Regions from separate parts of the Homo sapiens genome. Here regions 1 and 2 are each linked to region 3. Evidence: promoter capture Hi-C in 16 types of primary human blood cells and fetal thymus (Javierre and others, 2016). All regions are on one chromosome and are shown on one strand. The core of a region is centred on a gene start or on the middle of the fragment in contact, and the rest is flanking DNA. Distances in the headings are between cores, read along the strand shown. Region 1 has its middle 2.9 kb from the start of LINC02384. Region 2 holds the start of SLC35E3 (solute carrier family 35 member E3). Region 3 holds the start of RAP1B (RAP1B, member of RAS oncogene family).

The links. Contacts are between HindIII fragments. The CHiCAGO score rates a contact against its expected background, and 5 or more counts as called.
Region 1: a fragment that was not itself captured here is called in contact with the fragment with the promoter of RAP1B in region 3 in 1 of 17 cell types (non-activated CD4 T cells); the score reaches 5.3 in non-activated CD4 T cells.
Region 2: a contact is called between the fragment with the promoter of SLC35E3 here and the fragment with the promoter of RAP1B in region 3, in 1 of 17 cell types (neutrophils). The highest score is 6.6, in neutrophils.

Annotation. Positions count from the first base shown.
Region 1 is chr12:68,452,600-68,456,192 of GRCh38, reverse strand. No RefSeq gene overlaps it. Among named protein-coding and RNA genes, the nearest start is that of LINC02384, 2.9 kb to the right of the region's middle. The HindIII fragment of the contact is 177 bases long and covers 1,200-1,376 here.
Region 2 is chr12:68,744,711-68,748,296 of GRCh38, reverse strand. SLC35E3 (solute carrier family 35 member E3) reads right to left here and starts at 2,121. Exons shown (of 5, transcript NM_018656.5): 1 at 1,518-2,121; 2 at 257-367. The coding sequence starts at 1,919. NUP107 (nucleoporin 107) reads right to left here. Exons shown (of 28, transcript NM_020401.4): 28 at 2,488-3,586. RefSeq lists enhancers at 1,099-1,288, 1,649-1,758, 1,809-1,908, 1,758-2,448. The HindIII fragment of the contact is 13,773 bases long and covers 1-3,586 here.
Region 3 is chr12:68,609,145-68,612,804 of GRCh38, reverse strand. It overlaps RAP1B (RAP1B, member of RAS oncogene family), which reads right to left and starts at 1,906. Exons shown (of 8, transcript NM_001010942.3): 1 at 1,762-1,906. RefSeq lists a silencer at 1,590-2,049. The HindIII fragment of the contact is 9,459 bases long and covers 1-3,660 here.

The DNA.
Region 1 (3,593 bases), core at 39-2,538, 160 kb after region 3:
CAGCTAGAAGGCAGGAAGTGCACCCTGGGGTGGCCCTCCGGTACAGGAACCTGACCTGGACAGGAAGTGAAGGGTATCATCTGAGGAGCAGGAAGGGGAGATGTGAGGGAAATAAGTGTCCATTGCATAAACCTTGCTAGAGCTTTTATCCTGTTACAGGGTTGTAGGCAGCTTGGAGCTTCTCTAACAAAATAATCTGGCCTGCTGGGAGGTATTTGTGAGGGACAAGAAGGGAGACAAGAAAGGTTAGAGTGTGGGCAATTACCATGGGGCTCTGTCTTGTCTTGGCTCCCTTTTGGATGACATAAGATCTTTGTCTTGGATCCAAACAGGATGAAAATAAGTCTCATTTCCTCCCCTCTCCCAACCCCCTTCCTCCCATGATGAAATGAACTATATGGGACTCTTGGTTGACATAAATCTTTGTGCTTTAATAAAAACTAAAGGTTCAGGAGTGGGAAGTGGTTAAGAAGTTGTTTGCTGGGGATTATATCAATAATTCATCCTGTTTAGACTGAAGAATGACAATGATAAAGAAGTTAAAACAAAAAACCAACAAACAAACCCACTAGGGTAAATGGGGCAGGGGAAACTGAGAAGTGAAAATGAAGACAGAATTGAACATATGTGAATATAAACTTTTTTTTTTAACCAGCTGTAAACAAAGTGGTATGAGGAAAGATGGGAAGAGATATAAAAATAAACAGCATTAAGTTAAAGGGGGTAATTATAGGAGCCAAAATGAGAGGTGAGTGTCGCAAAGGATCCAGCTAACTTTAGAGACTTGAGAAGTTTCTTCAAACATTTCCTTTCAGGACACTGTGGGGCTTTCAATCTTTCAGGATTTAACAAGACCCTAAATGTATATGCCTTAAATTCACACAAACACACACTTTTTTTGTTTGTTTGTTTTTTCCTGTTGGGGGAGAAGAGAGAGTAGGAGATGTATTCTTTGTTGTCATTTGGAAAACAGTTTCCGGTACATTTTATTTGCTTTTAAAAGCCCTGGAGAATAGTCAGCAAATAGAAATTGGTTTGCAGAAATAACATGGCTTCCTGGAACTTAGGGGGAAGGAAATGGGTGGTTTCTTTAATTACTATAGTATTTGTTTAGTATAGTGTGTCTTACAACTAAAGATAGAATTCCGGCTAATGTCCAGGAGGGAAGGTGAATTTGGATATTAATGAATTCGGAAGCTTCATACAGTTGTGTTGAATTTACCAGGTTAAGTAAGACAATAATGCTCTTTGTTTTCCCTATCCTGGCCAGATTAGAGTGGACTGAAGTTTGTTTTCAGATATCTAATCAGTTTAAATTCAAGTGCATTATTATTTACATATGAAGAGCTAATGACTTTAATGTAAGCAAGTAAGCTTATTTACAACAAAGAAGTGACTGGGTGACAAGAGGAGTGTCGATATTGCCTTAATTAGTTGATTTGCCAATTATTCTTTTCTGCTGGGTGTGATAGTACTTTTCCTAATGAGCAGCAGAAACAAGAATGCTCCAGCAAAAGCGATTGTAACACAGTAGTAGCAATAGCTTCTTGGCCATTTTAGGTCCATTAGTGCTGAAGTTGTCGACTTTATACAATTTTTCAGACTTCATAAGATTGAAGAACCAAGTATATTCCTGTAGGTTTATCCTATTTATTTATCAGCTATGTGACTTAGCTCAAGTCTGAGAAGCTTAAAAGGCATTTACTGAAAGTGAAAATAAATTAGATGGCAGGTTTGAACTTAAAGAAGAATTAAAAATATGTCCCACAGCAGTGCCATGCATTTATTTCTTCAGGCTTCTTAAAGACATTGATTGGTAATAGATGCATCCGCGCTCATTGGTGTGGGAAGCCCTGGGGGAATGGCTAGAAGACTCCTTCATTTTCTTTTGTGTAGGTTTGCATTTCTTCTGTATTTGAAAGTCGTGATACTGAAGAAATTCAAAAATCCCCAGGAGATTCCATGTCCACATAACAAATGTAAACTTATCTTTACTTTAATGTGTTCACTTCTCATAACTCCTTGACTGGAACCCTTCACTTCATCCAGTCTGAGAGTCTGTAAGTTTCTGCCGCAGGCATGCACATTCCTGACACCACGCTTTTGCTTGGCTGTGCCTCCTGCCCAGAATGCTGTCTATTCTCTTACGCACATCCTCTCTGTATCCCATTTTTGTCCTATTTCTTCCTGATTCAGAGAGGGTGGTGATTGGTGGATATGGCTAACATTTATTAAGTATATCTCATGCTTTACATACTGTGGTGGCAATTTATGTGCATTGTTTAATGATACCCCCGTTTTACAGGTAGGGAAAGAGAGGCTTACAGAATGTCACTGGGCTCACACTAGTAAGTGGCACAAAGCCAGAATATAAATCTAGGTCTTTCTGGTCATTTCTGGACTTAATCTTATAGTGTCTTGAATTGTTTCTTAGCTATTGCATCTACTAAGGCCTTATTTCTCTAACCAGATTGTCAGTGGCTAGAGGCAAGGAGCTTACTTATCTTTTAGTCTGCATAGAGCAGGCCCTCAATAGTGATAGCCTTCTATTGAAGTGAAAAATAACATGTAAAACGTTAAAGGATTTTTATTATTTGGTTAAACACTGGAAGAAAGAAACAAATCACAGGAAACTAATTTCTCAAAATTACTGCATGAACACAAGACACTGTGGTTCTTAGTGTGATCAGCACCACTCACATGGGTGTCTGGAAATGTGGGGGCAGTCCTTAGGTTGTCAGGATTCTGAAGGTATCATGCAGTTATAGTGTGTGGTAGACAGGGACGTCAAACACCTTGCAGAAAGTAGGACCGTTCTGCACCCTGCAGGGGCCCAATAAGGGAAGCAGCACCTGGAAAACATGGACCCAGATGCCAGATTGAGTTCCAACTTGCCTCCACCTTTTACTAACTGAGTAAATCTTTCTCATGTTAACTATGTGCCCTCTCCACTCCTGGCACATGGTTAGTGCCCAAAAGCATCAGCTCATAATTACTATCCTCTAGAAAAGTGTCCCCCATGGCAAGACATGATCTTTGCGGAGTGAGAGAACTTACTAGACTAACAGTAACAGTGTAAAAATCAAGGTGTAATGAACATACAGAGTGGAATAATAGATATTGGAAACTCCAAAAGATAAGAGGGTGGGGTGGGAGTGGGGATGAGGGATGAGAAATTACCTGTTGGGTGCAATGTACAGTATTTGGGTGATGGGTACACAAAGAGCCCAGACTTCACCACTACACAATATATCCATGTAACAAAACTGTACTTGTATTCCCTAAGTCTAAAAAAAGAAACCAAAACTAAAAAAAAAAAAAAAAAAAAGAGAATCAAGGTGTGTCCCAAAACAGTGCTTCTCAAACCTTAATGTGCTTACACATCTCCTAGAAATCTTGTTAAAATGCAGATTCTGATTCGAGGGGGGGCTAGGATGGGACCAGAGTGTCTGCATTTCTGATAAGCTCATGATCCCAGAGCTGCTGTTGGGTACCAAAGTTCTAAAGTACCTTGAGGGAGAAGCCAACTTAATAAGTGAAATAATGAAGCATTTATTACATATCTACTATATAACTTAAATGACAAAAATAGA
Region 2 (3,586 bases), core at 872-3,371, 140 kb before region 3:
AATAACTTCACCCCAAGCTGAGACTGTTAAGCATGGATATTATACACTTACAAACAGGTAGGTATTTGGTGAGCATCACACACCCAAGTTTCTCTGTCTCCTTTCTTCTCTTCACCTTGAGTCAGACAACTTATGCAATTATGCTTTCTTCCCAACAGTCTATTGTCTCTATACTGTATTTTCTAAACCTTGGAATACAGCTTCAAAATTTATGAAATCTGCTAAAAAGGCACATAAAGAAAAAAAAATTACCAACCACTTGATAAAGGGATGTAACTAAAACACCAAGAGCAGCAAACACCATTCCAAGGAAATTAAACTTCACATCGTAATAAGAATTTAGGATTACACCTAAAGTTATAGGAATCTGTAACGAAAAAGAGGTAAATGTTGTTCAGATTAAATTCAAGAGACAAAAATTTAGTATTCCTTTCACAATGTCTTACAAGGCTAATGATAAACACATAACTGGGAAACAATGAACCTGTATAAATGTTTTCTGTTTTGACTTGGGAAAACTAGTTGTTAATCCTATTTCCTAAACGTGAAATATGACAAATCTATATTGATATTCACATTTAATTCCATTCTAAATTTGTGGTAAATATATTGCACTTTGCAAGAAAATACCACATGAATACAAAGGTGAGTAAATGGATCCCCAAACTAGTGTCTAAACAGCATAAGCATAAATATAAAACAATAAAAGCATAAAGACCTTAAATATAAGGCCAGGCACGGTGGCTCACCACTGTAACCCCAGCGCTTTCGGAGGCCAAGGCGGGCAGATCACCTGAGGTCAGAGTTCGAGACCAGCCTGATTAACATGGAGAAACCCCGTCTTTACTAAAAATACAAAATTAGCCGGGCGTGGTGGCGCATGCCTGTAATCCCAGCTACTCGGGAGGCTGAGGCAGGAGAATCGCTTAAACCCGGGAGGCGGAGGTTGCGGTGAGCCGAGATCGTGCCATTGCACTCCAGCCTGGGCAACAAGAGTGAAATTCCGTCTCAAAAAGAAAAAAAAAAAAAAGAAAAAGACCTTAAATAAGTTACTAAGTGCTAAAATTGAGTCCACCTCCTTTTATTTAAAGATGCAGACAGCTCTAAAGTATGGTGCTGCAGACGTTTTGAGACCTACTTTATGCTACATCTTTTCACGTTTTATCATACACGATTTGATTCCCCTGGGGGAGAAAGGCTGTTTTTGTTTGAGCTTTTGCAGATATTCTGATAACACTGGACTGTACCACCCAATACAGCTTTTTTTCTTATCGATCACAGCATTTAACGATTTCCATCAAATGGCAGCTACTAAAATTCACACATGCCCACTCTTCTGGGCTGACAAGATGGCCTTTTCCCCCTCCCTAAAATAAGCCTAAAAGTTCACATGCCCACAGATGACTCATTTGTGGATTTCAAGATGAAGGGAAAGACCAGTGTGCGTTCGAATTTCCCGGGGCCAGTGCAGGAGGTGGGTCGGGAGAGCGGCGCCTTGGGAAGCTGAAGCTACTCACCAGCGTGAGCTGGATTCTGGTGGAGAAGGTTTTCTGGTAGCAGAAGGTCTGGATGGCTATGATCACCGGCGTGGTCATGGCCTTGGCCAGCTGATAGGTGCCTATGGTGTTGTTCTGCAGAGAAAGGTTAGTGAAGACCACAAAGCCACAGAAGCTGAGGGCCAGGAGGAGGAGCCTGGAGGGCGGCAGACTTTTGGGGGCAAAGATGTCCAGCTTCTGGCAGATATACAAGCCCAGCCAGGTGACCACGAAGTGCACCAGGGTCAGGCTCATGTTGGGGAAGCCGTGGTACACATAAATCCATTTGTTGAGGAACACAATGCAGATGGACACCAGCAGGTTGAACAGGAGCCCGGCGGCGATTCGCCAGTGGCCCCGCACTCGGTCCACCAGCAATGCCATGATCCCCGCGAAGCTGGGGCCGTCTAGCCTCGGAAGGGGCGCCGGGCCTGTCTCCGGCTGCCCTTCTACTCCACCGCCGCGTCCTCGCAGACGCCGACCTCACCGTCTGACCCAGGAGTGGCATGCACAGATCAACCCCGGGCGAGTAGCACTCTTAACAGAGGACACACACCCCGCCGCCGCCCTGTAAGCCAGCTAGGACGCCGCAGCACGTCCCACGCCCCGCTCATCTCCGCCCGCAGCCACGTGACTCGGGGCTCCAGTGCTTCCGCCCCCGAGCCGCTGGCTGAACGGCCGCTACCCTGCGCAGGCGCGCTGAGCCTTGGGCGCGCGACGCTTGCGTCTTTGGGTCCTATCCTCTGGGTCCCCGACCCCCTTGGTCACCTAACGCCTACCTGACTGGACCAATCTAGGACCCCTTTCTTGATGTTTGTTTCCTGTGTGTCATTGACCCGATTTGCTAGACAACTTCTCTCTGGCTGTGCAGACACTGTTAGCCAATTTTACGTATTAAATGCTGAGCAAATTTAGTAGCCCTCGCCAGAGGGGGGAAAGAACTTATTGAAAGCATGTTTTTATTTTTTATTTTTGGAAAAAGACATTCAAAATTTACTTTCCAACAGACAGCATCATCGGGTATAACTACAAGGGTTTCTCCTTAGATCATACATTCACAAAGCATTATTAGCTCAACAGTGAGAAAATGTGTTCTCTAAAGATGTCCCCTTGACAATGTAAACGAGTGCTACTGTGTTCACTTACAACTCGAGAAAAAAACGTACAACCTGGCAAAACCGTATATATATACAGCTGTCTCTAGGGGTGCATACAAATATATATATATGTTTTGGATCAGGTCAGGTGCAATGACTAAGAGATAGAACTTTGAGTAACAGTCTTGATCGACAGTAAGGTCCTTCACACAGAAGTCAGGTTCTTCCTTTCTCCTTCCTCCTTAAGTCGATAAAGAAAGATTATATATTGTAGATATTACAGGTACAAAAGGAGATTTTTAAAAAAGGAATCACAAAAACATCTTGAATGTCCAGCTGTTCCTGCCAATACATCAATTCTTAGTTTTAAGACAGAGTCTAGGATTAATTCAGCAGTCATAAAATTAAAAAGAGAGACTGTGGTACAAAAAATTTAAAATAAATGAGGAAGTAGGGCATGGTGGCGTGGGCCTGTAGTCCCAGCTATTTGAGAGACTGACGTGGGAGGATTGCTTGAGCCCAGGAGTTGGAAGCCGGGATGGGCAACATAGTGAGACCCCCATCTCTAAATTAAATAAATAAATGAGGTAGGGAAATTAAAACTTTCACACCCAGGACATGCCTGTTCCAACTTTGTAGCCTTCATGCAATGCTCAAGGAAAAAGTCTTCATAATTCCTTGGCATAAGTCACACCAAGAAAAGTTTTTAAAACTTAGTATGCGAACCTGTGATAGGCAACACGCCCTTCCCTGAGTTTCCTCTCTAGAATGAAAACCCAGTTCTTCAAGAGTAGGCACTGAGGAACTAAATTAAGTTGCCTGAAATTTCCCACTCAGGTGCCCACCACTTCTGGTGTTCAGGAAGAGAGGCATTTGGGAATTGTGAGGAGCACATTGGCACTCTTGGGGCTCCAACTGAACTGTATTTAAATAAGCAGCAACACACACATTGAC
Region 3 (3,660 bases), core at 657-3,156:
CACCTAACGTAGTACACATTAAAAGCACAGATGAGCTCAAATAAGACTATCATTCAGGCTCTGTGTGCTTAAAGTTATTTAATCTGAGTATCAGTTTCCTCACCTAAAACCTGAGGATGAAACTACTCAAGTGGTTTTTTCTCCTATTTGACTAAGGTACCCACTTTTTAAAAGTGCGATATGGGAAGAATATTCTTTGTAAGATGATAATTCACTATAAAAACGTTGTATTTCTTTCTCCATGTTGTCTCTTACGGATAGACTACTGTCCTAAAGGTCAGTGGACCCACTAACTGGTTATCTTATCTAGGCCTCAGTTTCCTCCTCCATAAAATGACAGGGTGGGACTGGATGATCTAAATAGTCCCTTCCGGCCCTTAAAAAGTCCCATGACTCCACTATGACTCAATAAATACTATTTCAAGAGTCAGCTTTTAAGAATAATATGGGCTTGAAGTTAAATGAATGTCTCCCTTTTCTATAAGTTACTTTTTGTTAAGATAAGGTCTTGTTGAGCAAGTCCAAACAGTATTCTAATTACGAAAAAAGAGAGCTGAAAAATAAATTTACAAGTCAGAGCTTTAAATTGTTAAGTACTCGACATATATGAGATGCTGCCTGCAAAACCAAAATCCAATTAGACGGAATTAATTTTAAAATACTAAAATCACAATCTTCATTTAGTGTCAACTTTCTACCCCGTAAAAATGTGATTTCCCCTTACTGCAACACAGAACTGCTTCTATTCATACCAATCAGAAGTTACAGGGCCAAAATGTTTTTCTAAACTATTAAAGAGAGTGGGAGAGGGGGGAAAGCGAAGGGGAAGGAAACCATCTGCTTTAACTTGCAAAAATGATCTTTTCTCCAAAAGACATCAGTGTTTTTCAGAAGAAAAATCCGGAGAGCCCGGTTCACTGGGCGTAGTTTTAAATAAAATTCATGGCGCTGATAGTTTTAGGATTAGACACCTCGAGATGGCGAAAAAGAGAAGAGGACAAACTTCCTGGATTTTCTCTCCCTCTAAGAGAAAGAGATTTCCTCTTGCTGACGAAGGGAAAGGCCCCTTTAACAGTTTTTCTCTACACGGTGGCTGCTGCCAGACTAAGTGGGGCTCTCTCCGCTGCCTTCCTCCTGCCACTTCCCGCAACAAATGGAGCAAGCAAGCCCCGTTTCAGGCAAACTTTTTCGCTGTCAGGCTCAAGCCCGCGGGGCGCCTGGGAGTGGTTTCCCCCGAAGGCTCCTCGCCCTAGCTCGGGGCTGGGAGAAGCTAGGTCTTCGCAAAGGACAACTTTCTGGTTTCCGTTCTAACTTCCACCCATACCACGGAGGGAACCCAGGCGACAAGCGAGGGGGCTCGGGGCGGGGAGCGAGTCTTCGGGGGAGCCGGCGGGGAAAGGAGGGCGGCGGGAGAAGCTGCGGCGGACGCGGGCTGAAGAGAGCGGGCGGGTGGGGGGGTCCTCGGGCTCTCACTTCCTCCGCCATATTTCAGACATTTGACCCCTTCCGCAAAGCGCGCTGTTCTCCCGCGGCGGCGGCGGCTGCTCCTCCTCGCCGGCCCGCAAGGCAGCGCGCTCGCGGGCCCGGCGCCTGGCCCTCGCGCCACCTGCCGCGCGCCGAGGGGCTGCCGCCGCCGGGGCCCCTGACCGCCGCGCCCGGCCCGCGCCTCGCCGCACCCCACCCGCTCCCCTCAGCCGGCGCCCGGCCCCGCGCGGCCGCCGCCGCGGCTTCCCTCAGCGGCCACGCACTCACTCTGCGAACCTCTCACGCTGTCACCGGGTCCCTGCAGCCAGCGTCGCCCCGCGCTCCCCCCGGGTCGCTACTCTAGGCGCCACGGCGGTCCTGCCGCTGCCGCGCCGCTCCGGCTGGTTTACACGCCTGAATCTGGGCGAGGTTTGGCGATGTCGCCTTGACGTCAGGCGTTCAGCCTCGCTCCAGCTTCCGCCCGCGGGCGGGGCGCGCGGGTGCGCGGCCCGGGAAGGGGCGGGCCTAGGGGGCGGGGCGAGGGGAGCCGAGGGGGCGGGGCCGCCGCGCGCCGGGTCCTCGGCGCCGGCCTCTAGCCGGCCTGCATCGCAGCCGGAGCGCAGGCCCTGCCCACGGGCCCCTTAGCTGCCTCTGGGCGGCATGTCTGCCGAGGTTCTTCTCTCTAGCTGCGCCGCGCCTTCAGGCTCGCTTCCCCAGGCTGTCTGGTGGGCGGAATCCGCGCGTCGGTGTTCCTGACCCTCGTGGGTTCCAGTGGAACCCTCCGAAACCCAAAAGGCGCCGCCTCTTAATGCAAACTGTAGTCACCGACTCGTCCAGTCTGTTGGTATTCGCGTCGTCCTTTGTGCTGGGCAAAGTAACCGAGAAGTAACGGAGAGCGCGCATTTTCTACACCTAGAGCTCCCCGAGGGAGCCTGGGCCAGCAAGTCTTTCCATTCTTGAGATGCCTTTTCTCCTGGATTGACAAGTGTTTTATCCATTGGTGTCTTAACCCGGGCGAACTCTTTCCAAATTCCCATGCCAAACGCAGTTAACAAATCGATGATTTCTAAATAAGTTTGTACCCTGCACCTAAACCAACGCCATTTATATAACTAAAATAAATTGCGTATTTAAATGCATGTCCTGGACGCTTTATTCACTTCACAGGATTACCCATAGGCAAGTAGGTTTATCGTGTGACTTCAGGGCACCAGAAAACACTTTCTGTTCCAAAATGCCTCGTTCCAAAAAGGGCGGGAACTTAACACGGGAATTTACCATTCTTACTTACCCTTAGTACAAGAAATTTATCAGAACTTTTTCTTGAAGCAGTTTTGATGGGCGAGGAGATTAAGAGAGCAAAGTGCAGGGAAAAGGGATTGAGGGGTCATTTAAGACTAACTTTCTTGGTTCATAATTTAATTAGGCCCTGTACAAATTATTCTTGAAATAAATCTTAATAAACGTTGATAAATTTGGAAGATAAATGGAATGTGACTAATTTCACTCCGTTTAAGAATATGTAGTGATTGAAAACTAAGCTAACCTAAGTTAAATGAATAGATGAGAATGAATTATAACAGTTCTCTGTGTTTTATAATGTTTTACAATTTAGGTTAATTGAGTAGATTACCTATTTCGATAATTTCTATTTCCTTAGAAAAATATCTTTTTAAAAATTGTTTATTGTCTGCATTTATTGTGTATACAACATGATCGTTTGAAGTAATGTATACATTGTTACATTACCTCACAGAGTTACCTTTTTTTTTGAGAGTCTTGCTCTGTCACCCAGGCTAGAGTGCAGTGGCATGATCTCGGCTCACTGGAATTTCTGCTTCTCAGGTTCAAGAGATTCTCCTGTCTCAGCCTCCCGAGTAGCTGGGATGACGGGCGCGTGCCACCACGCCCAGCTAATTTTTAGTAGAAAGGGGATTTCGCCATGTTGGCCAGGCTGGTCTCGAATTCCTGACCTCAGGTGATGCGCTCGCCTGGGCCCCCCAAAGTGCTGGGATTACAGGCGTGACTCACCGCGCCGGCTGAGTTAGCATTTTTTTTTTCTTTTTTGAGACAGAGTTTCGCTCTTGTTGCCCAGGCTGGAAGGCAATGGCGTGATCTCGGCTCACTGCAACCTCCGCCCCCACCTCCCACCCTCGGGTTCAAGCGATTCTCCTGCCTCAGCCTCCCGACTAGCTG